Linked DNA regions of Homo sapiens: region 1 is linked to region 2. Evidence: promoter capture Hi-C in 16 types of primary human blood cells and fetal thymus (Javierre and others, 2016). All regions are on one chromosome and are shown on one strand. The core of a region is centred on a gene start or on the middle of the fragment in contact, and the rest is flanking DNA. Distances in the headings are between cores, read along the strand shown.

Region 1 (2,700 bases), core at 53-2,552, 320 kb before region 2:
TGAACTCCAGCTTGGGTGATACGGTGAGACTACATCTCAAAACAAACAAAAAAAAAGCAGATCTTAAGAAGTGATGGCCTCAGCCAGGTGCAGTGGCTCACGCCTGTAATCCCAGTACTTTGGGAGGCTGAGGTGGGTGGATCACTTGAGGTTAGGAGGTCAAGACCAGCCTGGCCAACATGGTGAAACCCCATCTCTACTAAAAATATAAAAATTAGCCGGGTGTGATGGCGGGCAACCTGTAATCCCAGCTACTCGGGAGGCTGAGGCAAGGGAATCGCTTGAACCCTGGAGGCAGAGGTTGCAGTGAGCCAAGATCGCGCCACTGCACTCCAGCCTGGGCAACTGAGCAAGACTCCGTCTCAAAAAAAAAAAAAAAAAGGAATGATGGCCTCAGTCTTTTAAATGTTTTGTCTTCATCTGGGAGACAATGCTTGGGTTTCCCTGGACTACTCCCTAAATTCATAGCCCCTATCCATACTTTAGGGCAGGCTTAACAAAGGGAGCCTGTGGTCATTATCTAGAGTTCTGAGGAATGTGTGGTTTTGTTTGTTTGTTTTTTGTTGTTGTTATTTTTGAGACAGGGTCTCACTCTGTTGCCCAAACTGGAGTGCAGTGGCACGATCACGGCTCTACCTCCCAGGCTCAAGTGATCCTCTCACCTCAGCCCCACAAGTAGCTGGGGCTATAGGCTCATGCCGCCTCACCTGGCTAATTTTTTGTATTTTTAGTAGAGGTGGGGTTTCACCATGTCGCCCAGGCTGGTCTTGAACTCCTGGGCTCAAGCAATCCACCCACCTCGGCCTCACAAAGTGCTGGTATTACAGGCATGAGCTACTGCACCCGGCCAGAAGTGTGTTCTTAAACTTGGTAACTCTAAAAGTGATCCTTTAGAAACTAGCAAGATGCTACTTCTGAGAGCCTCTTAATACAAGTTTAAGCATTTTACCTTGTGTTAAGATAAACGATATTGAAAATCAAATTGTTTAAAGAAGATTAAAATGAGTAGAGGTGGGATGGTTCAGTAAGTACAGGCTTGCCAGTATGGACTTGGACTCCTCTTCTGTCTCATTGTGTAGTAACTTAGAAAACATAAGTAATTTCATGTGTGATTTAACCCACAAAACAGTTGCCTGCCCCATTGCATTACCTCCCCTCATAGCTTTGAAGGATTACACTCACTTCCTAGAAGCCCATTCCTTAGTGTTCCCCAGTTCTTTAAAGCTTTATTGAGTACTTACTACATGCCAGGCATTGTACAGGGTGTGGAGGTACAAAGGCAAATGAGGCATGGAGAAGGGGATTCAGACATGTAATGGTTTGAATACAGTGTGGTGCAGAAGTGCTCTGTGGAACCAGAGACTTTCAGAGAAAGCTTCCTGGAAAGAATACGTGACTTGAGTCTCAAAAGATAAAGAGCTTACCAGGTGAAGTAGTTAGGGAAGAGTGGTGTAGTTGTGGGTAGCAGCCCTGGAGTGAGCAGAGACACAGATGAGAAACAGTATGGTCTGTGTAGGGAGCCGGCCAACTGATTGAGCTGGAGAAAGAAGAGGGTTCTGGCCACAGGGGTCTTATCTTCTCTACTTTAAATGTTTTAAATGTTTGATGTAGGATATCTTGGTACAAAGCCAGTGGGCAGATGAACAGAAATGATGAGAAACAGAATCAGAAGTGACACCCTTCAGGGTTAATTTTGATAGGACAGCTACTGAAGCATAGCAGAGTCTGTAGGCCTTTGAAAATTACTTGCATGCATTTCAGTAGTTTAGATGTGGCCTTTTGTAGAATTACATTGGCTAGAATGAGCGGAGACTTACAGGTGACATTCACCTGTGGTCCTCTAGGGCTTGGAGATCTGTCCCAGCAGGCCATTGTTTTTCCAGTTTCCTGATTCCTGGTAAGCATCCTCCTGAGATTTCACTAAGGAAACAGGGAGGAAGGGAAGTAATGAGCTGTGAAGCCTTGGTGGGCATCTGACATGTAAGCTTGGGGCTCTGGGGAAACAGGGAGCTAAGAAAATTTGCCAAGTCAAGTGCTATTTTATGTAGAAATGGTAAAACAGCATAGCTTTAAGCTCTGAGATACTCAAGTTTGGCTGGGCACAGTGGCTCACGCCTGTACACCCAGCACTTTGGGAGGCCGAGGTTGGTGGATCACCTGAGGTCAGGAGTTCAAGACCAGTCTGACCAACATGGAGAAACCCCATCTCTACTAAAAATACTAAAAAATTTGCCAGGCATGGTGGCGCATGCTTGTAATCCTAGCTACTCAGGAGGCTGAGGCGGGAGAATTGCTTGAACATGGGAGGCGGAGGTTGCAGTGAGCCAAGATCGCACCATTGCACTCCAGCCTGGGCAACAAGAGCAAAACTCCATCTCAAAAAAAAATACTCAATTTTTTTTTTTTTTTACCATTTCCCCCATTATTTGAAGAAAAATTTCCTGCATACCATTCCAAGTAGGTGACTTAGCCAAGAACTCAATGGTAGGAATTTCTTAAGCATAAATGTGGTTTTTGTTGTTGTTGTTGTTGTTTTGTTTTTGAGACAGAGTCTCACTCTGTCGCCCAGGCTGGAGTGCAGTGGCACTGTCTCGGCTCACTGCAACCTCCACTTCCCAGGTTCAAGCGATTCTCCTGCCTCGGCCTCCTGAGTAGCTGGGACTACAGGCGCGTGCCACTACACCCGGCTAATTTTTGTAT
Region 2 (2,700 bases), core at 197-2,696:
TGGGGCTGGCAGGCAGATCCTCTTTTCAGGAGCCTTTCATTTTAGAATCCATGAATAAATATCCTTGGGAAGGGGCAGGTGCATGAAGTGAGTGGCTTCTATGCCTACCCTCTCCATGACCTCACTCAGATTATTAAATTCAGTGTTTACTGAGTGTTTCGTATAGCACCATTGATTTTAGGGAACTGAGAGCTAACACAACCTAAAGTTTAGAAGGGGTTATAATTAGACTGTAAGCTTCTTGAAAGCAGAGACCATTGTATGTGAATTGCCCCATTGTGCCTTGGATGTGTTTAATAAATCTTTATTGTCTTGGTTCATTTTGATTTATTCTGCCTGCCCACTAATATTTACATTTTCTTTTACTCCTCTCCAATCTGCCAGGTAATCAAAGAGAAGCTAAGGCTGAAGTCTGCAACAGGCTCTGAGGTCCGGGGAAAGCTAGAAACTAAATCGGACCTGAACATGCAACAGCAGGAAGAGGAGGAGAAAGCCCGGCTCCTCATTGGTTTAAGTGTGGGCGACAAGAACCCTGGCAAGAAGTCCATCTTTGGCAGGCGCAAATGATTTGGCGATTCGAGTGGCTGCAGTACAGGATCTGACTCTGGCTCAGGCTCCAGGGACTTGTGGGGTGGGAGGGGCTTCCCGTTATCCACGAGGATTTGTGGGTGTCAGAGCCCATAGGCATCACTCTTCAGCACCTGGTCTGTTCGCTGCAGGGCATGGTGGACAGTAATGCTGAGTTCTGTCTCACACTGATCAGGCTCAGGGCCAGAGAGGCAACAAGAGAGCAAGACCCAGGGAATGGGCCCAGGGCAGGACCCTATTCCCTTGGGGTCAAGTGAAAGGGTAGGGGGATAGTCCTGATCAAGTGTGATAAATTTTTATAGACATATATAAATATATATATATTATATATATATTTCTAAGTGTAACTGTCCTTCCTCTGTGCCAGGAAACGGGAGGGGGCTGATCCTCTGATCCTCACTCCACTGTCATGTTTGAAAGAGGTATTGGTGTTCTGGAGTGGGGGTCAACCCCTCCCCAGTCTCTGTGCTAAGTTCACTTGGGAGGATGGCAGTAGGAGCCAGGGCTGGCCATGGGTCCCCTACCCTTCCCCGTAGGATATACCCTGGAGAATGGCAAAATGATTTAAAGAGAAAAAAAAAGATATTTTAAATTTGATGCTCATTTTTGTGTGTGTGTGTTGAGTGCATGCATTCAATCTGTGTATTCCTCCCTCATCAACCCAGAACATCCTGCAGCTGCCACTCTGAGGGTGGCCCCTTCCTTCCTCTGCCCTGAAGCTGTATCACAGAAATTTCTAGTCCTAGTGTGACTCTGGCCCCATGCTGATGGGTTTCTGCAGACTGGAAGAGGCGGGGCTCGTGTCACGCAGCATCAGGGAGAGGAATTGCTTATATAACTGGGACAGCAGATTTAGCAGAGAGAGGAGGCAGAGGCTGGGAATGGGAGCAGTAAGCTGTCGGCAGGGGCAGCACACCCAGCAGGGGGAACACACCCGGGTGGCTGTCCCTCACAAGGTAGGCTGTGGGGCTCTGGCAGCCTACTGAGGGGAGGAGAGGGAGACATGGGCTTGAGTCCTGGGAAGTTCCTGGTTAGGAGCATGGAAGTGATTACCCAATGTGGGGGTGGGGCAGGGAGGCTGTACTATGAAAGCATCACAGCCCAATACTGAGGTGCAGGCTGTACTCTTAATGCGTCATGGTGAAAATGTCCAACAATTATTTTCCTAGAGGATTTGAATTGTGCCCAGGAAATCTGGGGCTTAGCACAAAGCAAGGGTAATGGGAATTTTGCCTCATGCTCAAAAATGTACCTCTAGGGGTTGAGACTTAAGGGGAGGGAGTGCCTAGTAAGATGGGTGGAACCTGCTATGCCTCAGGAGCAGAAAGTTTAGAGTGGCTCCCTTGGTTCTCAGCAGGGTGGCAACATCCGGGGTCCCTGGGCCCGAGGCTGGAAGAGCCTCTGGACAGGTTTGGGAACCATCAGGTCAGATCTGGAAGAACTCTGGGAACTACGGGGGCACCACTATCTGCACCAGGAATCCCTAAAGCCAGCCCCAGTACTGGTAGAGAAGCCTCTGCCAGAGTGGCCAGTGCCTCAGTTCATCAACCTCTTTCTACCAGAGTTTCCCATTAGGCCCATTAGGGGGCAGCAGCAGCTGAAGGTAAGTCAGTGGAATCCCTGAGTGGGGTCTCAGTCTTTGGGAGAAGTTAAAAATGACCAGTCTCAACTGGCCTGTTCTCCATTCCTCTGTACAGATTTTAGGCCTCGTGGCTAAAGGCTCCTTTGGAACTGTCCTCAAGGTGCTAGATTGCACCCAGAAAGCTGTATTTGCAGTGAAGGTAGGGGCGTAGATACCACATTAGTCTCTGTTTCCAATCTTGATTCCAGAGAGGTTGGGAGGAATAAACAATTCAATAGCACTATCTATGAGTCATCACTACTCTCCTTTTATAGGTGGTGCCCAAGGTAAAGGTCCTACAGAGGGATACCGTGAGGCAGTGCAAAGAGGAGGTTAGCATCCAGGTATGCACAGAGTCCTGGAAAGGATTGTGGGAAGAGCTAGGCCACAGGTAGGGAAAGTACCTTTCTTGCCCACCTTCTTTTCCTGGTTCTGCCTCATCCATCTGCTTCAGCCTAGTTTAACACTAAAGTAGATCCTGGGAAAAGTAT

Evidence for each region. The method cuts DNA at HindIII sites, captures the fragments that hold promoters and counts their contacts. A CHiCAGO score of 5 or more calls a contact.
Region 1: a contact is called between a fragment that was not itself captured here and the fragment with the promoter of RSKR in region 2, in 2 of 17 cell types (total B cells and activated CD4 T cells). The highest score is 5.6, in total B cells.

What each region holds. Positions count from the first base shown.
Region 1 is chr17:28,928,938-28,931,637 of GRCh38, reverse strand. The region is part of intron 2 of PHF12 (PHD finger protein 12); the gene reads left to right. All of the region lies in intron 1 of LOC101927018 (a long non-coding RNA gene), which reads right to left. Among named protein-coding and RNA genes, the nearest start is that of PHF12, 21 kb to the left of the region's middle. The HindIII fragment of the contact is 151 bases long and covers 1,227-1,377 here.
Region 2 is chr17:28,612,931-28,615,630 of GRCh38, reverse strand. RSKR (ribosomal protein S6 kinase related) reads left to right here and starts at 1,446. Exons shown (of 12, transcript NM_001174103.2): 1 at 1,446-1,544; 2 at 1,943-2,191; 3 at 2,286-2,369; 4 at 2,485-2,553. The coding sequence starts at 1,470. BLTP2 (bridge-like lipid transfer protein family member 2) reads left to right here. Exons shown (of 39, transcript NM_014680.5): 39 at 385-1,185. The coding sequence ends at 567. All of the region lies in intron 2 of SPAG5-AS1 (SPAG5 antisense RNA 1), which reads right to left. The HindIII fragment of the contact is 13,614 bases long and covers 240-2,700 here.